7 separate regions of the Homo sapiens genome follow, and all the other regions are linked to region 2. Evidence: promoter capture Hi-C in 16 types of primary human blood cells and fetal thymus (Javierre and others, 2016). All regions are on one chromosome and are shown on one strand. The core of a region is centred on a gene start or on the middle of the fragment in contact, and the rest is flanking DNA. Distances in the headings are between cores, read along the strand shown.

What was found. The method cuts DNA at HindIII sites, captures the fragments that hold promoters and counts their contacts. A CHiCAGO score of 5 or more calls a contact.
Region 1: a fragment that was not itself captured here is called in contact with the fragment with the promoter of RCVRN in region 2 in 5 of 17 cell types (M0 macrophages, naive CD8 T cells, neutrophils and 2 more); the score reaches 7.5 in M0 macrophages.
Region 3: a fragment that was not itself captured here is called in contact with the fragment with the promoter of RCVRN in region 2 in 4 of 17 cell types (monocytes, neutrophils, fetal thymus and 1 more); the score reaches 10.5 in monocytes.
Region 4: a fragment that was not itself captured here is called in contact with the fragment with the promoter of RCVRN in region 2 in 8 of 17 cell types (neutrophils, monocytes, naive B cells and 5 more); the score reaches 10.0 in neutrophils.
Region 5: a contact is called between a fragment that was not itself captured here and the fragment with the promoter of RCVRN in region 2, in 2 of 17 cell types (monocytes and naive B cells). The highest score is 6.1, in monocytes.
Region 6: a fragment that was not itself captured here is called in contact with the fragment with the promoter of RCVRN in region 2 in 3 of 17 cell types (monocytes, neutrophils and M2 macrophages); the score reaches 7.1 in monocytes.
Region 7: a contact is called between a fragment that was not itself captured here and the fragment with the promoter of RCVRN in region 2, in 4 of 17 cell types (monocytes, M0 macrophages, M2 macrophages and 1 more). The highest score is 8.5, in monocytes.

Annotation. Positions count from the first base shown.
Region 1 is chr17:10,305,706-10,309,418 of GRCh38, reverse strand. It overlaps MYH13 (myosin heavy chain 13), which reads left to right. Exons shown (of 41, transcript NM_003802.3): 35 at 1-185; 36 at 2,355-2,480; 37 at 2,790-2,960. The region is part of intron 1 of LOC107985004 (a long non-coding RNA gene); the gene reads right to left. Among named protein-coding and RNA genes, the nearest start is that of MYH13, 65 kb to the left of the region's middle. RefSeq lists an enhancer at 1. The HindIII fragment of the contact is 3,024 bases long and covers 349-3,372 here.
Region 2 is chr17:9,903,699-9,907,875 of GRCh38, reverse strand. It overlaps RCVRN (recoverin), which reads left to right and starts at 2,605. Exons shown (of 3, transcript NM_002903.3): 1 at 2,605-3,076. The coding sequence starts at 2,696. The HindIII fragment of the contact is 11,305 bases long and covers 1-4,177 here.
Region 3 is chr17:10,284,213-10,288,005 of GRCh38, reverse strand. No RefSeq gene overlaps it. Among named protein-coding and RNA genes, the nearest start is that of MYH13, 87 kb to the left of the region's middle. The HindIII fragment of the contact is 1,085 bases long and covers 1,810-2,894 here.
Region 4 is chr17:10,324,078-10,328,037 of GRCh38, reverse strand. MYH13 (myosin heavy chain 13) reads left to right here. Exons shown (of 41, transcript NM_003802.3): 22 at 1-172; 23 at 3,774-3,960. The region is part of intron 4 of LOC107985004 (a long non-coding RNA gene); the gene reads right to left. Among named protein-coding and RNA genes, the nearest start is that of MYH13, 47 kb to the left of the region's middle. The HindIII fragment of the contact is 3,903 bases long and covers 1-3,697 here.
Region 5 is chr17:10,372,676-10,376,745 of GRCh38, reverse strand. It overlaps MYH13 (myosin heavy chain 13), which reads left to right and starts at 3,740. Exons shown (of 41, transcript NM_003802.3): 1 at 3,740-3,767. The HindIII fragment of the contact is 2,348 bases long and covers 919-3,266 here.
Region 6 is chr17:10,266,396-10,270,487 of GRCh38, reverse strand. No RefSeq gene overlaps it. Among named protein-coding and RNA genes, the nearest start is that of GAS7, 70 kb to the right of the region's middle. The HindIII fragment of the contact is 1,650 bases long and covers 1,217-2,866 here.
Region 7 is chr17:10,344,145-10,348,005 of GRCh38, reverse strand. MYH13 (myosin heavy chain 13) reads left to right here. Exons shown (of 41, transcript NM_003802.3): 13 at 1,208-1,326; 14 at 2,390-2,539; 15 at 2,634-2,804. Among named protein-coding and RNA genes, the nearest start is that of MYH13, 27 kb to the left of the region's middle. The HindIII fragment of the contact is 3,108 bases long and covers 1,058-3,861 here.

The DNA.
Region 1 (3,713 bases), core at 611-3,110, 400 kb before region 2:
ATGACGCCCTGAGGAGCAATGAGGACCTCAAGGAGCAGCTGGCCATCGTGGAGCGCAGGAATGGCCTCCTGCTGGAGGAGCTGGAGGAAATGAAGGTGGCCCTGGAACAGACGGAGCGGACCCGCAGGCTGTCAGAGCAGGAGCTGCTGGACGCCAGCGACCGCGTGCAGCTCCTGCACTCCCAGGTGCGTCGGCCCTCACTCCTCCGCTGAAGGTCCACCCTGGGGCAGATAGCGCCTCCTGCACCGTGCAGCTGCTTCCGCTATCCCTCCACTCAGGGCCCACGCCGTGGGAAGGAGCACCCGGTTTCTCCCAGACTAGTGGTCAAGACAAATTTTCTTTTAAGCTTGCTTCTTGGAATAACTGACTCTTGATTGACAGATTTCTGAGCTTTCTCTCATCCAAACATTAAACATCTTGCACGTTGTGGGGAAATCAGAGCAACGAAGGATTAATTATTACGTAAGGCACCTGGAAGTACTATTTAAGTGGAAACCTTAGAATATTAAGATTTTATTTCAAAATAATTATTTTTGACCCGGCTCAGCGCCACACCTATAATCCCAGCACTTTGGGAGGCCAAGGTGGGAGGTTTGCTTTAGCCCAGGAGTTGAAGCTGCAATGAACTATGATCATGCCACTGCACTCCAGCCTGGGCAACAGAGGGAGACCCTGCCAAAAAAATAAACAAACAAACAACAACAACAAAAACACAAAATAATTATTTTTATAAAAGTTTTTAAAACTCCTTTGTTTAAAAAAATAGAAAAAACAAGTAAATACATGGAAGAAAAAAGTCAAGCATATTATTAACATTCTGGGGTCTCTCATTCTTAGGCCCATTGTGAATTATATAAATATTATATTTTTGCCTCTAATCCCAGGAATTTGGGATTGTTTGATCTCAGGAGTCTGAGACCAGCGTGGGCAATATGGCAAAACCTTGTCTCTACAAAAAAAAAAAAAAAAAAAAAAGTTTTAATTAAAAATAAATACATATATATATAGTCAAAGTATGAGCAATCTTTTGCAACCTCTTTTTTGAATTTAACAATCATGAACATATTTTGACATCTTTTTTTTTTTTTTTTGAGACAGAGCAGAGTCTCTTTCTGTCGCCAGGCTGGAGTGCAGTGGTGCGATCTCAGTTCACTGCAATCTCTGCCTCCTAGGTTCAAGCGATTCTCCTGCCTCAGCCTCCTGAGTAGCTGGGATTACAGGTGCTTGTCACCACACCCAGCTAATTTTTGTATTTTTGTAGAGACGGGGTTTCACCATGTTGGCCAGGATTGTCTCGATCTCCTGACTTCAGGTGATCCGCCCGCCTCAGCCTCCCAAAGCTCTGGGATTACAGGCATGAGCCACTGTGCCCAGCTTCGACATCTTTAAATAGTCTTCTATATGATTTTTAATGACAGAAAAGTAGGCTATTCTACTTGTATATTATGGCCCTTTCATTTAATCAGTCTTCTGTGGTTATTTTAGATTGTTCTCAATAAAAATTTTACTTTTAGAAAGACTATTTTGATGAACTTCCTCATAACTAAATTTTCATATACTTCTATGATTACTATAATCTTAATATTTCTAGAAGTAAATAAATTTCTAAAAATGAAATTTCAAGGTCCAAACAGCAAAAGTATTTGTAATATAAATTGTTCTTTAACAAGGTTGTCCCAATTTTTATTTCCACTGGGGAAACGTGTGAGAGTTCTCTTCTATAAATTCTCAAATACTCTAGCTCTTATTTTAAAAATCTTCACCAATTTTATTGCTGAAACATACCTCACTGAGTTTTTAGTATTTTTTTTATTGCTAATGAGGTGGAACATTTTATCACATTTGTTGGCCATTTGAATTTCTTCTAGTATTTTACCCATTTGTAGTTTTTGCCCTTTTTTTAATTGATTTGCCTTATTTGTATGTTAAGAAAGGGAATATTTTCTTCTGTAATGTACATTGCAAATGTTTTCCAGTTTGTCGTCACCCCTTACAATTCTATTTATGGCATATTTTGATTATTTAAATTATTTTTCATTTCATATAGTATGTCTATCATCATTTCCTTGTTCCAAGACTTTTTACTGAATAATCTATCCATCCTCAAATATTTGAAATTCTACTTTTATCATTTACTGAATTCTTTCATGTACAATTCTTGGGTCTGTTTCAGGACTTTCTGTTCAGTTAAGAATAAAGAAAGAATGTACAGTACTGTACCCAGCAGGTCACCCATGTGAAAAATAAGAAATGGAACAGGATCACAATTTACTTCCCTCCCCAGCCAACCCTCTCCCAATTTTTTTAAGCGCCCCAATAGAACCCACACCCCTGATATCTAATTCTTCTTGTAGAACACAAGCCTGATAAATACCAAGAAAAAACTGGAGGCTGACATAGCTCAGTGCCAGGCAGAGGTGGAGAACTCGATCCAGGAGTCCAGGAACGCAGAGGAGAAGGCCAAGAAGGCCATCACGGATGTGAGCTCTGTTCTTCCTTTTCAGAGATGGGGTTTGGAACTGAGAAAGTGGGGCCTCTGAGCCAGGGTGTGGCAAGTATGTTTCATCTCTTATGACAACAATCGGTTAGTGGTGGCTTCCCAGACAGATGTAATGAGGTACAGTCTCAGCAGTGGCAAAGTGGGAGGGGAGGCTGTGGGGAATCAGCAATGACTGGCCCCAGTCAGACAGGGGAGGCTCAGCACCATGATCCCAGCCTTCGCCTCTTCTGCAAGCTCTGGGTAGGGATGGGCGGACAGGGCCTCTGATGTGTCCTGTGAACTTAACCAGGCTGCCATGATGGCTGAGGAGCTAAAGAAGGAACAGGACACCAGCGCCCACCTGGAGCGGATGAAGAAGAACCTGGAGCAGACGGTGAAGGACCTGCAGCACCGTCTAGATGAGGCTGAACAACTGGCGCTGAAGGGCGGGAAGAAGCAGATCCAGAAACTGGAGAACCGGGTAGAGTTTTTGAGAGGACTGTTACTCTGAAAGTGACAGCCTCGGACAGAACCACAGTCCAGAAACTGAGATGGTGGGAAAAGGCCACTGAATGAATAGATTGCAAATTCAGTTTCAGGACTGCTTGAAAAATTCCCTGTGAGCTTCATTTCTCACCTCTTTCTGTTTCACCTGTTCCTATGCCCCAAAACACACACACACACACACACACACACACACACACACACACACACACACATCTATTTTGGTATGCTCACACCTCAGTAAATGTAATATAATGATGTATGTTAATGTTCACATTCCATTTGCTATGCAGATTCAGATGCACGCACATACATGGAAAAAACTATTAACATATACTCTACAGTCATAAAATTACTCATTTTGATGCATTTACATTTTGGACCAAGCTTCACTTTGATCAACACAGCCCATCCTACATAAAATCTGCAGTTTCCGTTTTCTCCCAATCTCAGGTTTCCTTCCCTCCCCAGCTTTTCTCATCTGTCAGTGCAGGCTGCAATTCTGGCACAGGTATGTCTCTTGCTCCAGCCCCAAAAGAGGGCGATCGGGGCTTCTTCCTTTAGCTTGATGCACCAGCAAAGTTCAACCCCCCGACACCTGGACATCCCTGCTCTTTCTTTATCTGGGAGCGTATCCTGCAGTTATTATTCAGTTTCTTTGCTGACTGTTCCCTTTGTTTCCTGTCTCCCTTGCTTTTCCTTTTAGACCCATGTGGTTTATTTCAATCAT
Region 2 (4,177 bases), core at 1,356-3,855:
AGCCTAGGAGAGGAAGGACTCCTATTCAGAAGTAATATTCTCACTGGGCGCAGTGGCTCATGCCTGTAATCCCAGCACTTGGGGAGGCCAAAGCAGGCAGATCATGAGGTCAGGGGATCGAGACCGGCCTGACCAACAAGGTGAAATCCCATCTCTGCTAAAAACACAAAAATTAGCTGGGCATGGTGGTGAGCGCCTGTAATCCCAGCTACTTGGGAGGCTGAGGCAGGAAAATCGCTTGAACCTGGGAGGCAGAGGTTGCAGTGAGCCGAGATCGTGCCATTGCACTCCAGCCTGGGCGCAGAATGAGGCTCTGTCTTAAAAAAAAAAAAACAAAAAAAACAAACAAACAAAAAAAAAAAAACTCACAAAGTGATGGAAAAAAATTAGAAAGTTCACACACACACCCCAATATGCAGGTTTCCTGAGAAATCTCTGAAACTGTACTGGGCAGAGCGGCTGGGAGGGATGAGTCTGCCCCTTGGTGCCTGAACCTCTCGGTCCTTCCAGAGTGACATGAGGTGGGCCTGGCAGGTGGCTTTCTCCCAGCAGCAGGGACCTACCTTCTGCTGCCACTAGCCTGTTAGTAAGTAGGCTAAAATCCCCACTTTACACTTTGAGATGCAAGGCGGGCGGATCACCTGAGGTCAGGAGTTTACGAGACCAGCCTGACCAATATGGTGAAACCTCGACTCTACTAAAAATACCAAAAAAAAATTAGCTGGGCGTGGTGGCAGACACCTGTAGTCCCAGCTTCTCAGGGGACTGAGACAGGAGAATTGCTTGAAACCAGGAGGCGGAGGTTGCAGTGAGCCAAGATCGTGCCCAGCCTAAGTGACAGAGGGAGACTCCGTCTAAAAAAAAACCAGTTTACCTGCCTGGAGACCGTGGGGTTTATTCTTCATCATTCTCACCCCAGGGCAAAAAGAGACAACTCTCCATCCACGGTGGCAAGGCTGGGGTTCTGAGTGTGTCCCCTCGAGCACTGCGCTCCGCTAAGGAAAGTGCACGCCCACCCTCCCTTCCTTCTGGGTGACAAGAATCCAGGTGTGCAGCGTCCTCACTAGGTTGCTTCCTCGTGCTTGATACTCCCCGCTGAGCTGCACAGACGCGAAGCCTGCCTTTGCACAGCTCCGTCTCTGACCACTCAGTTATTTATCCATTCACTCAGCAAACACGTTTTCTTGCCTGCTCACTCCAAGTCCACTGCAGACGGACACCCTGCAGCCTGCCATGGACCCACAGATAGATTGTGTTTGGCCCACACCATGTTTTGTTTTGTTTTTGTTTTTGTTTTTGTTTTGTTTTTTTGAGATGGAGTCTCACACTTGTCACCCAGGCTGGAGTGCAATGGTGCAATCTCGGCTCACTGCAACCTCTGCCTCCCGGGTTCAAGCGATTCTCCAGCCTCAGCCTCCCAAGTAGCTGGGATTACAGTCACCTGCCACCATGCCCGGCTAATTTTTTGTATTTTTAGTAGAGACAGGGTTTCACCATGTTGGCCAGGCTGGTCTCGAACTCCTAACCTTGTAATCTCCCCACTCAGTCTCCCAAAGTGCTGGGATTACAGACGTGAGCCACCATTAAAATTTTGAATTAATTGCCAAAGTTGAAAAGTGTGGAAATTGCAAGAAAAATTCTGATTTTTGGATTTCTCTTGAATAATTTAAAAAAACCCAAAAATCTCACCATCCCATGTGACCACGTTCTCTGGCAGCCCCTTCCCGAGGTGACACAGGCCTGGCTGCCCCCTGCTGGTCCCTTCAGGCAGTTCACCTTCACTCCCTGTGACTGATGGACAATAACAAAACGAGTGTTTAGCATTAGCCATGTGCCAGTTTCTAAGTGTGTCAGACATATTGACTCACATCAGCCTCACAATGACAGTGTGGTAGATGCTATGATGCCCATTTATTCAAGAAAGACTTGCTGGGGGCCCAAGCCTATCAGGTTCTGGCAATGGAAATGCATCCGGGAACAACACAGACAAAATCCCATCCTTCACGGAGCTTTCATTCCGGTGAGGGGACATGCAGCGTGCCGATGATGGTGGGGGTTGTGCTATTATAGATAGAGGGTCAGTATAGGCCTGGCTGAGCAGGTGACATTTAAGCAGAGACATGACTGCAGTGAAGGTTTAGAAGAGTGTCCCAGGTGGAAAGAGGTGAAGAAACAAGCCTGGGGCCACACAGCTAGTTAAGTAGCCAAGCTGGGACTTGAACCCATGCTGGCCCCAGAGTCTGTGCTCCTAACCATTGCATTCTAGGGCTTGATATGAGATGCCAGCCCCGCCCCGAGATGCTCAGAGTTAGTGAGGAAGAGAAACAGGGAACATGGCTGCTGTTAGAGGGCTGGGGCTGGGGGTGCCGGAGGCCCCAGCTCTGAGGGTTCCAACCTCCTGTCCTGTTCTAGTATCGTCCCGGGAGGCCGAGATGAATTGCCTGCCTGCCCTGGGCTCTTTATTTTAATCTCACTAGGGTTCTGGGAGCACCCCCCCCCACCGCTCCCGCCCTCCACAAAGCTCCTGGGCCCCTCCTCCCTTCAAGGATTGCGAAGAACTGGTCGCAAATCCTCCTAAGCCACCAGCATCTCGGTCTTCAGCTCACACCAGCCTTGAGCCCAGCCTGCGGCCAGGGGACCACGCACGTCCCACCCACCCAGCGACTCCCCAGCCGCTGCCCACTCTTCCTCACTCATGGGGAACAGCAAAAGTGGGGCCCTGTCCAAGGAGATCCTGGAGGAGCTGCAGCTGAACACCAAGTTCTCGGAGGAGGAGCTGTGCTCCTGGTACCAGTCCTTCCTGAAGGACTGTCCCACCGGCCGCATCACCCAGCAGCAGTTCCAGAGCATCTACGCCAAGTTCTTCCCCGACACCGACCCCAAGGCCTACGCCCAGCATGTGTTCCGCAGCTTCGATTCCAACCTCGACGGCACCCTGGACTTCAAGGAGTACGTCATCGCCCTGCACATGACCACCGCGGGCAAGACCAACCAGAAGCTGGAGTGGGCCTTCTCCCTCTACGACGTGGACGGTAACGGGACCATCAGCAAGAATGAAGTGCTGGAGATCGTCATGGTCAGTCTCCCCTCTCCCCTTCTGGCTGGGCGGTGCCGGGGTCGCTCCGGGCTGGGGGTCCCCTGCTGCAGCTGCTGCAGAGGGAGTGGATCTGTGGGTGGAGCGGGGGATGCGGGCCACTGGCTCTGAGAGCGTGGTGCTCCGAGATGCTGATATTGATAGAGGGGTGGGCACTTGCCCACAGCTTCGTTGTCTTCCCGGAGCAGAATCTGAGTGTTTCCTAATACAGCCATGTTATGCTTGGCTTCACGATGTTTGGGTCAACAACGGACGATATAGACCACTGTGGTCCCATAAGATTGTAATGGAGCTGAAAAATTCCTACTGCCTAGTGACGTCATAGCACAGTTACTTTATTTTTCAAATGCATTTAGTGTAGCCTAAGTGTATCCGTAAAGTCTGTAGTTGTGTACGGTAATGTCCTAGTTCTTCACATTCACTCACTACTCACTCACTGACTCACCCAGAGCAACTCCCAGTCCTGCAAGCTCCACTCATGGTGAGTGCCCTAGACAGGTCTACCATTTTGTATCTTGGTTTTTTATTTTTTATTTTTTTGAGATGGAGTCTCACTCTGTAGCCCAGAGCTGGAGTGCAATAGTGCGATCTTGGCTCACTGCAACCTCTGCCTCCCGAGTTCAAGCAATTCTCCTGTCTCAGCCTCCCGAGTAGCTGGGATTACAGGTGTGCACCACTATGCCTAGCTAATTTTTGTATTTTTAGTAGAGACGGGGTTTCACCATGTTGGTCAGGCTGGTCTCAAACTCCCGACCTCCAGCGATCCGCCAGCCTCAGCCTCCCAAAGTGCTGGGATTTACAGGCATGAGCCACTGTGCCCGGCCCATTTTTTATCTTTATACTGTATTTTTACTGCATGATTTCTATGTTTAGCTATGTTTAGATGCACAAATACTTACCATCGTGTGACAACTGCCTGCAACATTCAGGACAGTCACGTGCTGCACAGGTTTGTAGCCTAGGAGCAAAAGGCTGGACCATGGAGCTCAGGGATGTAGTCGGCTCTACCATCTGTGTTCGTGCAAGGATGCTCTATGATGTTCCCACATAGAAGTTGCCTTAAGATGTGTTTCTCGGAATGTA
Region 3 (3,793 bases), core at 1,103-3,602, 380 kb before region 2:
AAAGACACAATGAGAAAAGACACCTACAGGCCAATATCCCTGATGAACATAAGCACAAAAATCCTCAACAAAGTATTAGCAGATTGAATCCAGCAGTACATCAAAAAGTAAATTCACCGCAATCAAGCAGGCTTTATTCCTGGGACGTGAGATTGGTCCAATATACACAAATCAATGAATGTGATTCATCATATAAATAGTTAAAAATAAAAATGATATGATTATCTCAATAGATGCAGGAAAAGTTTTTGATAAAATCCAACATCCCTTTATAATAAGAACCCTCAACAAACTAGGCACGAAAGGAACATACCTCAAAATAATAAGAGCCTTCTATGACAAACCCACAGCCAACTTCATACTCAATGGGCAAAAGCTGGAAGAATTTCCCTTAAGAACAAGAACAAGGCAAGAATGCCCAGTCTCACTACTCCTATTCAATGTAGTTGGAAGTCCTAGCCAGAGCAATCAGCCAAGAGAAAGAAATAAAAGGCATCTACATAGGAAAAGGAAAAGTCACATTATCTCCCTTAGCTGACAATATGATACTATACCTAGAAAACCCTAAAGACTCCAGCAAGGCAGGGCGCGGTGGCTCACACCTATAATCCCAGCACTTTGAGAGGCTGAGGTGGGAGGTTTACTTGAGGTCAGGAGTTTGAGACTAGCCTGGCCAACGTGGCAAAACCTTGTCTTACTAAAAATACAGAGCAGTTTGGAGATTTATCAAAGAACTTAGAACTACCATTCAGCCCAGCAATCTCATTACTAGATATACACCCAAAGGAAAATAAGTTGTTCTACCAAAAAGACACATGCATTTGTATGTTCACTGCAGCCCTATTCACAATAGCAAAGACATGGAATCAACCTACGTGCCCATCTATGGTGGATTGGATAAAGAAAATGTGGTACATATACACTATGGAATACTACTCAGCCATAAAAAAAGGCTCAAAGATTCAATGCAGAAGCAGACTTGAGAATCAGCTATCTTCTGGTAAGCCAGAAATTTTAAAGATTTGCAAAAATGTAAGACAATACTACTTTCAACTCACTATTTTTTGTTTTGTTTTGGGAAATAGTCATTTTCATAAAAATAGATTATATTAAGGTAATGCATTAATTATTGCTATCTTAAATGAATTAGTAATGTTTGTAATTTCTCAGTTTTATTGTCTAGTATGGTAAATTTCAACAGATAGGACCCAAATAAATGAAAATTCTTTGGAGTCTTCAGTAATTTTTAAGAGTGTAAAGGGGTCCAGAGACCAAACTTTGGGAAACCTTTTAGCTAAATCTTGAAGAAGTCTATTGTGGCCAGGAGTTATCTCCTTCTACTCCTCTCTCAGCATAGCCTCAACCTGTCCCCAGTGAAGTAAACATGCCCAGGGTTCAGTGGAGGAAAAGGGAAAAGGAAACCTCCCACTTCCTTTCCTGGAATGTGCCCTGGACAGCTCCCCTAGAATGCCAGGGGAAGTGTCACATCCTGTTCTCCCGAACAAATGACTGTAGAGGTCTCCCCATCACTGAAGGTGCTGAGCATGTCTGAGCCAGTAGGGAGAAAAGAGGGATGGAGGGAGACTCCTAGAACTACAGAACAAGGAGAACTCCTTACACACCCACACTACTATGCTGATCCTGCTCCCAGCCAATATGTCCACTAATAGCTTTGGAGGGAATGTGAATTTAGCTGCTGTCCTGGTTTTAGGGGCCCTGTACCTTCGCTTTCTATAATCCCCTGTCTTCTTCCTCCCCTGAAAAAAACAAGCACGTGGGGGCATCCCCCCATCGCATATCCTGCAAGCTTACAAAAACTAGTTATCCACCAGGCTTAAGGGAAGACTGGTATAAATGATCTGCGGTTTCCCATTGCTTCCAGCATTACAGAGCCCAGCGCGGAGAAGCTGTCATCTGTGCTCTATTCATTACTGTAAATGACTAGTGTAATACATGAGGAGATGCTTCGCGGCACTGGAAAAAAACAGTGCAGTGAAGATGGTTGTGAAACACTCATGTCAGGATTGCTATATTTCTTTTTTTTAATTTAATTTTATTTTATTTATGTATTTATTTTTGAGACAAAGTTTCACTCTTGTTGCCCAGGCTGGAGTGCAATGGTGCGATCTCGGTTCACCAAAACCTCCGCCTCCCAAGTTCAAGCGATTCTCCTGCCTCAGCCTCCTAAGTAGCTGGGATTACAGGCATGCGCCACCACACCCGGCTAATTTTGTATTTTTAGTAGAGACGGGGTTTCTCCATGTTGGTCAGGTTGGTCTCGAACTCCCGACCTCAGGTGATCTGCCCGCCTCGGCCTCCGAAAGTGCTGGGATTACAGGCATGAGCCACGGTGCCTGGCCGGGATTGCTATATTTCTTGGCTTTAAACACTGATGAGAGTGAAATGTTTAAGGAAGAAATAATTCCAGTTTTACCCAGACTCTTCCAGAGGAGGAATGCGGACAAGAAAGTCATGCCCCAGCTTATTTTATGAGGCCAGTATTATCTTGATATCAAAGCAAAAATTATAGGTCAATTTCACATAAGAACATCGATGCAACAAATCCTAAAAAACATATTAACAAACTGAGTTCAGCAATATATAAAAAAAATAATATAACCTGATATAAGGTTGGATTTATTCCAGGATTTTAAATTTAATTTAACATTAGAGAATCTATTCGAGTTAATACACTACATAAACAGATAAAAGCAGAAATTCATGTGATCATTTCAATAGATGCAGAAAATATATATTTGATAAAATTCATAGCCATTGATGATTTTTAAAAATGCTTTCTCTTAAACTGGGAATAAAAGGGAACTTCCATGATGTGAGAAAGAGTCTCTAGAAAAGTCTTACAAAAACATCATATTAAGGAAATGTTGAAAGCTTTTCCTTTGAGATCAGGAATAAGATATGAATGCCAACCATCATTATTTCTATTCATCAAGGTACTAGAAGTCCTACCTAATACAATACAGCAGGAAAAAGACACTTAAAATACAAAGACTGGGAAGGAAAGAACAAAATTATTATTTGCCGATTGTATACAAAGAAATTTCCAAAGAATCAATATATAAAATATTAGAATTAATAACAGGGTTCCGCAAGGTAGCTGTTTTCAAAAATCAAAGTACACTAAATGCAATGAGGTATACTGAATTGGCTCTTGGAAGAGAAAAAAAGACTAGTGGAAAAACTGGTGAAATCCAAATACAGCCTGGAATTTACCTGTTAGTAATGTACTGATGTCGACCTGTTACTTTTTGACTAATGTACTGTGGTTACATAAGATGTTAGCATTAGGGAAGGCTGTGTTTGGGGTATACAGGAACTCCCTGTACCATATTTGCAATTTTTCCATAAATCTAAAATTATTCCCAAGTAAAAGGTTTATTTATAATTTTTGTTGGTTTAAAATTTTCTTTTTTTGGAGACAGGATCTTGCTCTGTCACCTGGGCTGGAGTGCAGTGGCATGACCACAGCCCACAGCTGCTTCGACCTCCTGGGCTCAAGCAATCCTCTCACATCAGCCACCCAAGTAGCTGGGACTACATGCACACACAACCAAGCCTAGCTAGCTAATTTTTTTGTTTGCTTGTTTGTCTGTAGAGACAGGGCTCTCACTATGTTGCCCAGGCTGATCTCAAACTCCTGGCCGCATATGATCCTCCTACCTTGGCCTCCCAAAGTGCTGAGATTACAGATATGAGCTACCACGCCTGGCTATAAAATTTTTTTGACTTAAAATACAAAAGTAAATTGTACTTGTATATACAAGCATCAGAT
Region 4 (3,960 bases), core at 497-2,996, 420 kb before region 2:
CAAGCCCCTGCTGAAGAGTGCAGAGGCCGAGAAGGAGATGGCCACCATGAAGGAAGACTTTGAGAGGACCAAGGAAGAACTGGCCCGATCTGAGGCTCGCCGGAAGGAGCTGGAGGAGAAAATGGTCTCCCTCCTGCAGGAGAAGAATGACCTCCAATTGCAGGTCCAGTCTGTAAGTACCTTCTACTTGAGAACGCAAAACACAGACTCTGGAGGACAGAAAAGGGGGAGGAACATTGAGGGCGCCATCAGGTGTCTATTCGAGAGACAGTGGTGCCACCCAGTGGTCATGTGGAGTATTGCAGCACCACCTTGCTCGTAAAAGGATGCCTGGTCCCGGGCTTAGCAAAGCAGTGAATGCCGGAAATTATGTCTGCAAAGAGAATTTGTGCTCTCCCTGATTTCTCCCCGTCATCGCAGAGTTAGATATATTTTGCTGTGGGCATGAGGGATATATATGTGTCATATGTATATGCACCACAGCTTTTAAAAATCAATAAAAATAAAAATAATCAAAATTAAATAACCCAATTCAAAGTAGCAAGAGTAATTTTCTATATATTATTTACAATAATATGTAAAAAGTGCTTTAGGCCGGGCGTGGTAGCTCATGCCTGTAAGCCCAACACTTTGGGAGGCTGAGGTGGGAGGATCGCTTGAGCCCAGGAGTTCAAGACCAGCCTGGGTATCATGGCAAAACCCCATCTCTGTAAAAAAATTTTTAAAAACTAGCAGGCGGCCGGGCGCGGTGGCTCACGCCTGTAATCCCAGCACTTTGGGAGGCCGAGGCGGGAGGATCACGAGGTCAGGAGATCGAGACCATCCCGGCTAAAACGGTGAAACCCCGTCTCTACTAAAAATACAAAAAATTAGCCGGGCGTAGTGGCGGGCGCCTGTAGTCCCAGCTACTTGGGAGGCTGAGGCAGGAGAATGGCGTGAACCTGGGAGGCGGAGCTTGCAGTGAGCTGAGATCGCGCCACTGCACTCCAGCCTGGGCGACAGAGCGAGACTCCGTCTCAAAAAAAAAAAAAAAAAAAAAAAAAAAAAAAAAAAAAACTAGTAGGCATGGTGGTGCATGTCTCTAGTCCAAGATACTCAGAAGGCTGAGGTGGGAGAATCACCTGAGCCCAGGTAGTCGAGGTTGCAGTGAGCTGAGAACATGCCACTGCACTCCAGCCTGGGCAACACAGTGAGACCCCGATCTCAAAAAAAAAAAGTGCTTTAAAGATACATAGTTTTATCAAAGAAATGGGGCAGTATAGGCTGGACGCGGTGGCTCACACCTGTAATCCCAGCACTGTGGGAGACCGAGGCGGGCAGATCACAAGGTCAGGAGATTAAGGCCATCTTGGCTAACATGGTGAAACTCCGTCTCTACTAAAAATACAAAAAAAAAAAAATTAGCCAGGTGTGGTGGCACACGCTGGTAGTGCCAGCTACTCAGGAGGCTGAGGCAGGAGAATCACTTGAACCCAGGAGGTGGAGGTTGCAGTGAGCCGAGATCGTGCCACTGCACTCCAGCCTGGCAACAGAGCAAGACTCCGTCTCAAAAAAAAAGAAAAAAGAAAGAAAGAAAGAAAAAGAAAAGAAATGGGGCAGTATAATTGTCTCTTTCACAGAGTGAAGGCATTTATAATTTTCCCTTTTTAATAAATCCCCAAATACTTTTACCTTTTGTTTTTATACAGAGCATTTTCCGCTCCCCTTTTCACTTTCCCAATCACTATAGTGAGTTAATAGGAGCACTTTCCCAGGTACAGCGGACAAGAGAACAGCTCTTGGAACAAGATAACTGGGTTTCTATCCCAGATGCTCCACCTGATAGCTGTGTGACCTTGGATGAGCTACATATCCTCTTTGTGCTTCTGTTATCTCGTCTGTAAAATGGGCATAGTCAGAGTACTCACCTCATCCAGCTATTGAAAAATCAGAGTGGTTAATGCCTGTAAAATGCCTGGCACACAGCTCATGTTTATAGATGTTCAGCAAACATTAGCATGCAGGCTTGCCAGTCTCCTCCCATGCATTACCCTGCAGTGTGTGTCTTAAAATACTCTTATATGGGCCGGGCGTGGTGGCTCACGCCTGTAATCCCAGCACTTTGGGAGGCCGAGGCGGGCGGATCATGAGATCAAGAGATCGAAACCATCCTGGCCAACATGGTGAAACCCCCTCTCTTCTAAAAATACAAAAATTAGCTGGGCATGGTGGTGGGCACCTGTAGTCCCAGCTACTCAGGAGGCTGAGGCAGGAGAATCACTTGAACCCAGGAGGCAGAGGTTGCAGTGAGCCGAGATCGCGCCACTGCACTCCAGCCTGGCAACAGAGTGAGACTCCGTCTCAATAAATAAACAAATATATAAATAAATATTCTTATATGGGAAGATATAGCCCGATTTAGAACAGAAGTAGCTGATCTTGGTCTGTCCAAGAGACTCACTGCAGCATCTTCTGGGACATATGTATTCAATCACGAATTCTTGGGTGTTTTTAATTTTCTGTTCTGTGGTTCGAGGAGACACAGCTAAGGAGACATAGGTAGAACTTTTCTGTTGAAAGGACCAGGCCTGGTGGCTCATGCCTATAATCCCAACACTTTTAGAAGCCAAGGCAGGAGGATCACTTGAGCTCAGAAGCTCGAGACCAGCCTGGGCAACATAGTGATACCTTATCTCTAGAAAATAAATAAATCCATATATTTAAAAATAAATTTAATGAAAGTTAAAAGATAGTAATGTTTTGAAACTATTTTGTCAGCTTGAGATAACATAGAGTAGATGAGTCATTTTCCAACTGGTGGTAGCAGGAAGAGTGAGATAACCAGCTGTTCAAATGTGGCAAATTTCTAGAGGCTTCATTCTTTAAAATGAACTTGTAATTTCACAAACTCCTCTGTTTGAAATTATTATAAGTGAGGCCAGGCATGGTGGCTCACACTTGTAGTCCCAGCACTTTGGGAGGCTGAGGCAGGAGGATCACTTGAGGCTCAAAGTTTGAGACAAGCTGGGAAACACATGGAGGCCCCATCTGTACACACACCAAAAAAGAAGCCAGTCATGGTGGCACATACCTTGTAGTTCCAGCTACTTGGGAGGCTGAGGTGGGAGGATCACTTGAGCACAGGAGTGTGAGGATGCAGTGGGCTACACTCACACCACTGCACTTTAGCTTGGGCAACAGAGCAAGCCCTTGTCTCTAAAGAAATAAATGAACAAATTATTATATGCAAATTTCTATAAGCAATGTTCTTGCTAGTTAAAAAAAAAAAAAAAAAAAAAAAACATGTATATGGACCAGGTGCAGTGACTCATGCCTGTAATCCCAGCACTTTGGGAGGCCGAGGCGGAAGGATCACCTGAGGTCAGGCGTTTGGAGACCAGCCTGGCCAACATGGTGAAATCCCATCTCTACAAAAAAATACAAAGATTAGCCAGGCATGGTAGCACATGCCTGTAATCCCAGCAACTCGGGAGGCTGAGGCAGGGAATCGCTAGAACCTGGGAGGCAGAGGTTGCAGTGAGCAAAGATCATGCCGCTACACTCCAGCCTGGGCCACAGAGAGAAACTCCATCTAAAAAGAAAAAATGTGTTTATGGGTGATATCTAAGTTTATGTACACGTGTGTGTGCAGTGTGTGCACATGTGCGTGCATGTGTGTGCATGACCCATTTCTTGGCTTAGGTGTAGATAATAAGCTTTTAGAGGGTGATACCCTTTCTTTGTAGCATTTTCAAAGAGGCCAATCAAAACATAAAATGACCTGGTTCTTTCAGGAAACAGAAAATCTGATGGACGCTGAGGAACGGTGTGAAGGACTCATCAAAAGCAAGATCCTACTGGAAGCAAAAGTCAAGGAGCTGACGGAGAGATTGGAAGAGGAAGAGGAGATGAATTCTGAATTGGTTGCCAAGAAGAGGAATCTGGAAGATAAATGCTCCTCTCTCAAGAGAGACATTGATG
Region 5 (4,070 bases), core at 843-3,342, 470 kb before region 2:
CCTCCGTATTACCCCCGACCCCACCCCAGTCCTGTGCTGTGGCCTGGCTCTCCCAGTTGACCTTCCTAAAATATCCTGGGAAGACTTGTTTCCAAGCAATGATCCCTCAGTTCCCTAAGCCTAGAACCTCCTTCCTGTTCCCCTCACCCAGTTAAAAGTCTGCCTCCTTTAAGGGACAGGAGAGACTAGGGGAAAAGGCGTGGCTTTGGAATCAGAAATCCTGGATTTCAGTTCTGGTTCAATTGCGTACTAGCTGTGGGGCCTTTTAGCCAATCCTTTACCCTTTTAGGCCTCAGTTTCCCCATTTAGACCGTGGGAATAATAATAATATGAATCGTATAAACCTCTCAGCCTGGTAGAGAAAAATAAACATAATAAAATATATAAAATCGTCATCTAAACCAAAAAGTACTAAAAGATTATTATTATCTACAGTCACTACTTCTGTCCAGATCTTTTCCCTCCTTCAAAATAAATAAAATGTTATTATTATAACAATTCTGCTAATATTTTATATATACAACACACTTTATGGTTTTTCAAATACCTTGTACATACGTCGAATCCACTGTCCACAATCCAATCAGTTTAGGATAGTTTCATCTGGGAAAGTGATTTATCCTTTTCATGTCTATGCACTTCTCTTCCCATCTGCATTGTCAGCTCCTTTGGGGCAGTGATCTTAGCTCATACCCCTGTTCCCCATTCCCAGCACAGAGTCTAATACCAAGTAGGCACTCAAACATGATGCATTTCCAAAAACGAGATGTTACAGGCATAGGCTCTAGAGCCAGAGAGCACTTGAAACTCATTTCAGCTGCTGACTAGTTGTATGGCCTTGGGCAGATTGCTTAAACTCTCAGTAGTTGTATAATAGAAATGATATTAGCACCTACCTCACAGGACTATTATAAAGCTTCAGTGAATCAATATGGATAAAGCCTGGCATGTGGTGAGTTCTTAAGTCTTTTTTCTTTTCTTTCTTTCTTTCTTTTTTTTTTTTTATGTGAGATGGAGTCTTTCTCTGTTGCCCAGACTAGAGTGCAACGGTGCCATCTTCACTCACTGCAACTTCCACCTCCTGGGTTCACGCGAGTCTCCTGCCTCAGCCTGCCAAGTAGCTGGGAATGCAGGTGTGCACCACCACGCCTGGCTAATTTTATTGGTATTTTTAGTAGAGATGGGGTTTCACCATGTTGGCCAGGCTGATGTCAAACTGCTGACTTCAAGTGATCCACCCGGCTCGGCCTCCCAAAGTGCTGGGATTACAGGTGTGAGCCACTGCACCCAGCCTAGTTCTTAAGTCTTAATTATTACCATTAAATGAAACTCAGAGTCTGATTCCATTCTTTTCTTATCACTTCAGGCCTTTCAACACATGAGTCAGGATGACTCCCCTATGAGTCATCTTGATTCATTTATTCACCAGGACGAACATTTACTGAGCATCTGCTACATGCAAAAGGCTGCACCTCAAATAAAAGCAACTGTGCTTAGGGCTGATCACTCTCGGTTGCTTTCTTCTGGGCCAGAACTTTGCTATGGATTATGTCCTTCAGCCTTTCCTCTCTTGTTTTCTGGAACAGGAAATAAATAAGTTTGTGTTCCAACATCAAATCACCTAGGGAAGTTCCAGGTCTAAAAAAAAAGTATTCATATTTCTTTACTGAAGGGCTTCTCACATCCCTTAATATGCTAATATTTATGATGAATCTCTAACAGGAGGGAATAGAGTTTAACACATTTCTTAAGCTCATTTAACCACAGGACCATTTATTTCGAAGCGACCCTCCCAATCTGCATTCTGTCAAATCTACTTTAGAAAATACTTTGTGGAAGCCAGGCTCATGCCTGTAATCCCAGCACTTTGGGAGGCCAAGGCAGGCGGATCACCTGAGGTCGGGAGTTCGAGACCAGCCTGACCAACATGGTGAAACCCCGTCTCTATTAAAAATACAAAATTAGCTGGGCCTGGTGGCACATGCCTGTAATCCCAGCTACTCGGGAGGCTGAGGCAGGAAAATCGCTTGAACCCACAAGGCGGAGGTTGTGGTGGGCGGAGGTCGCGCCATTGCAATCCAGCCTGGGCAACAAGAGCAAAACTCTGTCTCAAAAAAAAAAAAGAAAGAAAGAGAAAGAAAGAGAGAGAAAGAAAGAAAGGAACGAAAGAAGGAAGGAAGGAAGGAGGGAGGGAGGGAGGGAAGGAAGGAAGGAAGGAAGGAAGGAAGGAAGGAAGGAAGGAAGGAAGGAAGAGAAAATACTTTGTGGAAGTCCTATCTCTACCTGCTCCTCCTCTGGTCTAAAATTCACTTTGATTAATGCAAACTATCTTTTGGAAATGCCCTACCTACATGAAATTCTACCCACTGGAGACTGATTAAGGAAACTTTGATTCAACAAACACTGATTATATACAATTTAAACAGATCACACTGTATTGCAGTAAATGGCTCTAACTTCTACATATACAGTTGTTCCTACATAGTCAAACATCACTTATATTTTAGCAAAAAATAAAAAAACTCCTAAGTAACTATAATTGTCACAAAGTCCACGTATTTTCATTAGAACCCACTAGAGCTGCACTCAGAACTTATTTACTCTTACTTTAGCCTGATCTTAATTTTGTAATCTCTTTCCCAATCAATAATACAAAATCAGGCTAGTAAAGACAAACTTACCACAGAAAGAAATTATACCTGAGAGGCTGGCCATGAAGGCAAAGACAGAAAATCTAAAAAGTAAGGCCAAGTGTGGTGGCTCACACTTGTAATCCCAGCATTTTGGGAGGCCGAGGCGGGAGGATCACTTGAGGTCAGGAGTTCGAAACCACCCTGGCCAACATGGTGAAACCCTGTCTCTACTAAAAATATAAAAATTAGCTGGGCGATTATAGCACATGCCTATATATAACACATGGGATTATAGCACATGCCTATAATCCCAACTACTTGGGAGGCTGAGACAAGAGAATTGCTTGAACCTGGGAAATGGAGTTTGCAGCGAACCAAGATCACGCCACTGCACTCCAGCCTAGAGGAGAGAGCAAGACTCTGTTTCGATAATAATAATAATAATAAATAAAAGTATACACCAAAATTCACAGCAGGAACAATTAGTGCAGGCATGATCCACTAAGAACCAGATCCTTGATGACTTTATTATATCATCTCCCAGACCCCCAGAGTGATCAAGAAAAACTTAAATTCTATTCAAGATAGTAGGTTACACAGAGCAGGATAATGTAAAATACATTTTGGAAAGCTTTTCTTCCAGTAGATTTTTAAACAAACAAATACATAAATAAGACTGGATGTGTTAAAAGGTCAACCTTAAATTTCCAGAGATTTCTGAGATGAGAAGCACACCATCCCATACCAATGCTGGGTAAATGAGGTGTAGTTACTGTCCACACTACTGATCACCCATTGCTTGACAAAGCATCCTGTGGTTCTGCCCTTCAGTGACCTTCTTAGCACACTCTGCTCCAGTTCCACTCAGCCCCTAGGACTCTCTAAGTCTCAAAGATCTGTGTCCAACGTCAAAATCCCTATGCAGCTGACTTGGCATTATGCAGCCTCCACTGGTCATTTATCCAAGTAACTTAACAAGAGTGAGAGATCAGGGCTACGACGCATTTACATCTAACAAGTAAATGGTGCTCCCCCAAATATAGCCAAGTTAGAGTGCTGGGCTGGCAGATTTGGGAGTATAAAGAGAGCTGGGGGGTCACACTCCTGAAATTGCTGTGACCGCAGCATCTCTAGGTAAGTGCTCACAAGTGCTCACTTTTTTGCTCCACGTAGCTATAGTTGCACCTGATCAGGTTACCAGTCAAGGGGGGAAGACAATAAAGTAGCCTTTACGGAGGGCCTACTAAGTGCAAGGTCTTGTGTTGAGGGCAAGGTTGGAGACAAGATGGAAAGACAAGACAACTGCCTTTCAAGAAACTTTTACAAGGGGTGAAAAGACAAGAATATAAGCAATTATAAGACAAAAAATATTCACCTGCAGAACAAAACTGAGTATAATGCATGATTCCTCCTCTGATTATTTAGGTCAATGTTATA
Region 6 (4,092 bases), core at 792-3,291, 360 kb before region 2:
GGAAAGTGACAATCCAGTCAAAACAGAAGTTTGGCATCTCACAGTAAAAAGGAAAATAAAAACCTCAGACAAAGTTTTGTTTGTGTCTCTTCACATGTGTTTGTGAGAAAACACACCCACACATAATGTCGAAAGGCCACACTGGCCTGATTGCATCCTAAGCCCAGGCATTTCTCTGTAGCTCTGACCACATTCAAATGTTTTAATTCAACAAGTGTTTATGGATTTCTACAATGCCTTTCTTTCATCTGGACAAGTTAAACCAAGCTGTTCTGTAAAGAGAATACAATTCATCATGATGCTGCTGTGTTTGGAGACAATTTTGGTAAAATGAGCGCCATCCTCTACAAGCTGTGAATTTACTCCTCTGTTCATCCATCCACGCATCTACTCATCCTCCTATCCACCTGTCTTTCCACCCATCTATCCATCCATCTACTCATCCATCCATTTATCCATCCATCTATCCATCTATCCATGCCACAAATATATCCATTCATTTCCTTGGGGCTTTCACTATCCTATCTTCTTCCTTGCTTAGCAGAGAAGGAGTTGCACCCTGTTAAGACTTCACTTTTCACATGGAATGCCTTGCCCACTTCTTCATTTTGTGAAATCCCACTAATCCTTAAAATCCAAGCTGGGCTCTCTTTTGGAAGACTCTTCATGGACCTCCACTGTCAGACCATAGTGTTCCATCTTAATTCTTATGGTACTTATGTTTTGTGTTCTTTTATTTTTATTTTCATTGTTTTCTTTTTTTTTTTGAGACAGAGTCTCGCTCTGTTACCCAGGCTGGAGTGCAGTGGCGTGATCTTGGCTCACTGCAAGCTCCGCCTCCCAAGTTCACGCCATTCTCTTGCCTCAGCCTCCCGAGTAGCTGGGACTACAGGCGCCTGCCACCACGCCTGGCTAATTTTTTGTATTTTTAGTAAAGACGAGGTTTCACCGTGTTAGCCAGGATAGTCTCGATCTTCTGACCTAGTGATCTGCCCACCTCAGCCTCCCAAAGTGCTGGGATTACAGGCGTGAGCCACCGAGCCCGGCCTGTGTTCTTTTATTATGTAGTAAATTGCTGTCTTCAACATCTCTTCACTGTTATTTTCCAGTGCTCTTGTCTCTTTTAATGGAAATATTCTGCATGATTTCTTACCTCCGCAAGTAAATTGTAAACACTGTGAGAAGGGAGACTCTGGTTTTTACTTCTTTGCAAGCTTCCTTCACAGCTGGCTTCTTGCCCAGTATTATGCAAATTATAGGCATCCAACCAATATACATACATTAACTGGGTGCCTAGTTTCCTCATCTGGGAAGTGGGGACAACGTTGGTGTTATAGAGATATTGTGGGGCTGGGCATGACGGCTCATGCCTGTAATCCCAGTAGGAGGCCAAAGTGGGCAAATGGCTTGAGCCTAGGACTTTGAGACCAGCCTGGGCAATATAGTGAGACCTCATCTGTACAAAAATAACAAATTAGCCAGGCATGGTGGCATGCACTTGTAGTCCCAACTACCTGGGAGGCTGAGGTGGGAGGATCACTTGAGCCTGGGAGGCAGAGATTGCAGTGAGCCGTGATGGTGCCACTGCACTCCAGAATGGGCAACAGAGCAGGATCCTGTCTCAAAGTAAATAAATACATAAATAAGTATTTAAAAATAAATACTGTGTTAATTGAGATAGCGTATAGTAAAGAGCTTCATGAACTGCAAAATCCTAAAGACATTATTACTGACAATAATACTGCTTTATTTGTAATAAAAATAAATAACAGTTAATAAGCACATGCTAAGTTACCTGCAATCTGAACGAATTCATGAACATTTCATTAGTACTTACAGGATCATTTTGTCCGGTACAAGGCACAGGCACTAAGCTAGAAGGTGGATGGAACATAGTCGTTGTCTTTAAGGGGCTCATGTTTTAGCAAAGAGGCAGAAACATAGGTGGCCTGTGATTGTGTATGAGGCTGCAGAAAGCACCATAACACAGACACAAAGTGCTCAGAAACGCTTAAGAGATTCCTTAATTCTGCCTGGAGGGATTAGGAAAAAATTTGTGGAAGGATTGTCAGTTGAGCTAAACTTGAAAGATGAGTAGAAGTATAGTAGATGGAGAAGGAGGAAAAGAATGTTCTAGGAAAGAAAGAACATAGATATGCAGGTGTGTATGGGGAAAAGGAAGCAGGATTGTCTGATGACGACCTGAAGTTCCTTGGGGAAAAGGGTAGACAGCAGATACTGAGAACCACGCCTGACCAGTAAACCATGAGCCCATCGGGAGCTTTGTGAACTGTATTAAGGAATGTGAGCTTGATTCCAAAGACAATACAAAACCACAGAGGAGGAAAATGATTGGATTTGTATTTCAGCTAAATGACTAGCAGTGGCAATGCTCTCTGCTGCAAATAGTAGAAACTCAATCACAAACCATAAGAACGCATATTGTCTCACCTAACTGGAAGTTGATGGGGAGGCAGGCTGCAGGCACAGCATAATCAACCCCTCTAATACGCATGCTCCTTTCACGACACTTACTATTGGCTTATTCTTGGATGGTTGTAAAATGGTCATTCCAGTAACACATCCAGGCACAACTAAATTCTGATGCATCCACCCAGGAGACACCACTCTCCCGTCGCCACCCAGTCTCATTAGGCACACAGTCCTGGGACAAGACAAAGCCATTGGCCATGGCTATACTCAAGGAGAAGACAGGAGGCAAGGAGATGAACTGAGAAGACAGTGCAGATCACTGGCATAAAGTAATAAAACCCAGACCAGAGATGTGGCTGTGGGCACGAAGAGGGAAAAACAACTTGCAACTTATCTGATGTGGAAGAGCCAGGAGTTGAGAATGCTCAAAGCTTCCAACCTTGGGTGTCAAAGTGCTTAGTGTTCTGTTGCCTGAGGTAGGTGTCTGGGTGGTCACTTGGTGATACGGTTTGGTTGTGTCCCCGCCCAAATCTCATCGTGAATTTTAGCTCCCATAATTCCCATGTGTTGTGGGAGGGACCCGGCAGGAGATAATTGAATTTTGGAGTCAGTTTCCCCCATACTGTTCTCATGGTAGTGAATAAGTCTCACAAGGTCTGATGGTTTTTTTTTTTTTAGACAGCCCAGGCTGGAGTGCTGTGGCACGATCTCTGCTCACTGCAAGCTCCACCTCCTGGGTTCACACCATTCTCCTGCCTCAGTCTCCTGAGCAGCTGGGACTACAGGCACCCACCACCACACCCGGCTAATTTTTTCTGTATTTTTAGTAGAGACAGGGTTTCACCGTGTTAGCCAGGATGGTCTCGATCTCCTGACCTCATGATCTGCCTGCCTCGGCCTCCTAAAGTGCTGGGATTACAGGCATAAGCCACTGCACCCGGCCCCTAGATCTGATGGTTTTATAAGTGGGAGTTCCCCTGCACAAGCTCTCTCTTGCCTGCCACCATGTAAGATGTGACTTTGCTCCTCCTTGCCTTCCACCATGATTATGAGGCCTCCCCAGCCATGTGGAACTGTGAGTTAATCAAACCTCTTTCCTTTACAAATTACCCAGTCTTAAGTATGTCTTCATTAGCAGTGTGAGAACATACTAAAACACTTGGCATGCCCCCCAAGGCCTGCCAGACAAAGACTGCGAAAGAGGCTTCACCCAACATCCCTCTTTCCTGAAGAGCCAATATAGTGCTGTGGTTAAAGGGCTGACTCATGTTATGCCACCTGTTTTCCATGCCTTATGAGCTGAGAACCCGGGGTAAATTCTCATTTCCTCATTAGTGAAATGAGTATAATAATGCTTAGCTCATAGGTTCTTATGTTGAGGGGTGAACATAGAACCTGGCATAGACAAGACATCATGAAATGATAAGGAAGGAGACCAGTTTTAGCCATTGTTCAGTCACTTACTCACTGTATGATCTAATCCAACTACTCAGCCCACCAAACCTTAATTTACTCATCTATAAAACAGGGGAAATACCTACTTATGGGGTTGCTGAATTAGGGAAATATGGCAAGTGCTAATGTGGAATTTTGGTGGTTTTTTTGGCTGTCCAACTGAGAGAGACAGAGCCCTCTTCCAAGTGGAAAACCCTGGCTACT
Region 7 (3,861 bases), core at 1,362-3,861, 440 kb before region 2:
GGCAAGGTGGCTCACACCTGTAATCCCAGCACTTTGGGAGGTGGGCAGATCACAAGGTCAGGAGATCAAGACCATCCTGGCCAACATGGTGAAACCCCATCTCTACTAAAATAAAAAAAAATTAGCCGGGCCTGGTGGTGGGTGCCTGTAATCCCAGCTACTCGGGAGGTGAGGCAGGAGAATGGCGTGAACCCAGGAGGCGGAGCTTGCAGTGAGCTGAGATCGCGCCACTGCACTCCAGCCTGGGCAACATTGAGAAACTCTGTCTCCAAAAAAAAAAAAAAAAAAAAAAAGAAGTAGTCCCTGGGGAGCAGCATTTCTCTGCCTTTTTGATGAGCTCAATGCAGGCCCCCAGGTCCTTCTCAAAGTCAATGAACGTCTGCTGAAATATATGAAAATATATAACCCATGAACTGTAGGAAACAGCCAAAAGTCAAGTGCTTTTGACCATCTCCAAACATTTGAAGGGAGGGTCAAGTTTTGTACTTCTCTTTCAACTATGAGCATGGTACTTTGCTTAAATTAGGAAGGTGCCTCATGTATATTGTCAACTGTCCAAGTGGTGGCTCCTTTACTCATATAACATTTTAACGTATTGTCAGACTCCAACATAACTATGTAATTAATTAATTTTTTTTTTGAGTCGGAGTCTTGCTCTTGTCACCCAGGCTGGAGTTCAATGGCACGATCTTGGCTCACTGCAACCTCTGCCTCCTAGGTTCAAGTGATTCTCCTTCCTCAGCCTCCCAAGTAGCTGGGACTACAGGCGCTTGCCACAATGCTTGGCTAATTTTTGTATTTTTAGTAGAGACAGGGCCATATTGGCCAGGCTGATCTCGAACTCCTGACCTCAGGTGATCCACCCGCCTTAGCCTCCCAAAACGCTGGGATTACAGGCATGAACCACCGTGCCTGGCCTGTAATCAACATTCTTTTATGAAATCGAAATATCAGTAGGTCAAAATTGGCCACGGAGTATCTTATTGTTAAAACTGCATCTAGGAGGCAAATTGGAAGTTCCTGAGAACCATGGGCCCCTGGATATGGGATTAAAGCTTCAGTGAACAAGTCCAGACCTGGTACAGATATGACAACATGAAAACATTTAAGAAAATTACAGAAAACACTTCTGGGAGAAGCCAGGGGCTGACTGGACACTTTAGCAGCTACTGTTTTTGCATGATGCCATTTTTTTCTCTTCCTTCAGTGGCTGACAAAGCCGGATACCTGATGGGACTGAATTCTGCAGAAATGCTGAAGGGCCTGTGCTGTCCAAGGGTGAAGGTTGGCAATGAATATGTCACTAAAGGGCAAAATGTCCAGCAGGTAATGGAGATGCTCTGAATCCAGTTGATTGAGATCTTTTGCTATTTGAGCCATTATCTTAAAGCTCCTTCAGTTGCAGGTATCAGAAATGCACATGAAATCAGCTTTCACATTAAGAGGAAGTTCATTTTTAGGCTTCAGAGGCAACTGAAGGAATGCAAATCATTAAGTGCCCATTGGACGCCATGAGGACCTGGAATTAGAAAGTGAAGAGCCCTCTGGAGCCAGGCAGCCTCCCTCCAGCTCCTCTGGGATTCATGGGCTGTTGAGTCTCTCCTCTGTTGTGTCCTTGCTAGGCAGATAAGTTTCCTGGACCTCTCTTGCCCGTGGCCACCCCATAGCTCCCAAGTTTATATCTCTGTGTTTCCAGCCTCACCCTGAGACTGAGACCAGTGTCTTTTGATCCCTATTCCAAATTCTTAGGAGAGATACTCAATTAATCCAATCTGGATCAAGTGTTCACCTCTGGTCTAATTAAGTGTGGCCAGGGGCTGGAGTCATGTGCTATAACCATGTTGTTAGAAAAATATCTTTGTGAATAGGATAGTTCTCAAAGAAAGGTGAACAACATGAGCTGGGCAAACACCTCATAAAATATTTAATATTGCATTGAATGATCTGAAATTGCCAATATTCAACTGCTTTTGATTTTCTTTTTTTCTTTTGTTTTTTTTTTTTTTTTTTTTTTGAGACAGAGTCTCGCTATGTCACCAGGCTGGAGTGCAGTGGCACGATCTTGGCTCACTGCAACCTCCACCTCCCAAGTTCAAGTGATTCTCCTGCCTCAGCCTCCCGAATAGCTGGGACTACAGGCGCCTGCCACCACACCTGGCTAATTTTTGTATTTTTAGTAGAGACGGGGTTTCACCATGTTGGCCAGGATGGTCTTGAACTCCTGACCTCGTGATCCGCCCGCCTTGGCCTCCCAAAGTGCTGGGATTACAGGTGTGAGCCACCACGCCTAGCCAACAGCTTTTGATTTTCGAGTCAATTTCATATGTTTCAACTTAATGCAGCCATAGAAACACTAACTCAAGGGTTGAGTGGGTGATCCTTTTTCAAGGTGACCAATTCGGTGGGTGCTCTGGCCAAAGCCGTCTACGAGAAGATGTTCCTGTGGATGGTCACCCGCATCAACCAGCAGCTGGACACCAAGCAGCCCAGGCAGTACTTCATCGGGGTCTTGGACATTGCTGGCTTTGAGATCTTTGATGTGAGTTGTGACCTTCTACTTTCTTGTCTGCTTTGCTGAATCTCCAATGTATTTTCCAAGCTCACTCAAATTCTTTGGTATTTGAATCACCCAGTTCAACAGCCTGGAGCAGCTGTGCATCAACTTCACCAATGAGAAACTGCAACAGTTTTTCAACCACCACATGTTCGTGCTGGAGCAGGAAGAGTACAAGAAGGAAGGCATCGAGTGGGAGTTCATTGACTTCGGAATGGACCTGGCTGCCTGCATCGAGCTCATCGAGAAGGTAGAGAGATACTGCTGCCTGGGACAGCTCCTCCTTATTGGGGGCCCTCCCCTTCTTGCTCTGATTCTTTTCTGCTCACAGATTGGGGCCCCTAGCCCCCAGGCTGCAAGCCTTCAGATAGATAACTGAATGCCTATTTGCAAAGAGAATGAATGTCCTAAATCTGTTCTGACACTTAAAGAGGTTTACGGGTCATTAAAATCCAAGGGCTCAGTTATCTCCAAGAATGTGATGGAACCCCAGTAAGGACTGTGGCATTTCTTACCTATTTGACTTACCCAAAGACCCAAGGAGGCGGAACCATGGAGCAGTGTGGCTCTTGGAGGGATGTTAATATGAAAACAGGAATAGATATTAACTTTTTTTTTTTTTTTTTTTTTTGAGACGGAGTCTTGCTCTGTCACCCAGGCTGGAGTGCAGTGGTGCAGTCTCGGATCACTGCAACCTCCACCTCCCAGGTTCAAGCGATCCTCCTGCCTCCACCTCCTGAATAGTTGGGACTACAGGTGCCCGCCACCACGCCCAGATAATTTTTTTTTTCTTTTTTTTGTAGAGACGGGGTTTCACCATGTTGGCCAGGCTGGTCTCAAACTCCTGACCTTGTGATCCACCCACCTCAGCCTCCCAAAGTACTGGGATTACAGACGTGAACCACCACGCCCGGCCGACATTAACTTTTTAAAAAGGAATTCCCATAATATTTGAGCACTGCTCATGTTGGAATGAGTATATCTTCCTAAGGTGGCTACTGAGAAATTGGGACATTATTGTTCAAAATATTACTCACATTACTTTATGGCTATATATGAAACTTTACTTTTTTGTACACCTATTGAAAAAAGTATGCTAGGTTTATACACACATAATTTTATCCTATATTCTTTTGTTCAGCAAATATTAATTAAGCACATACTCTATGCCTAGCACTTTCTGGTCATCCCCCAAACAGACCAAGAGTCTTGCTCTCACCGAGCGTACATGCCAGCATTCCTGGTACCAGAGTGAAAGCACCAAAGAAGGTTTTTTGGCTTCTCCAGACCATGAAGCATGGGTATGC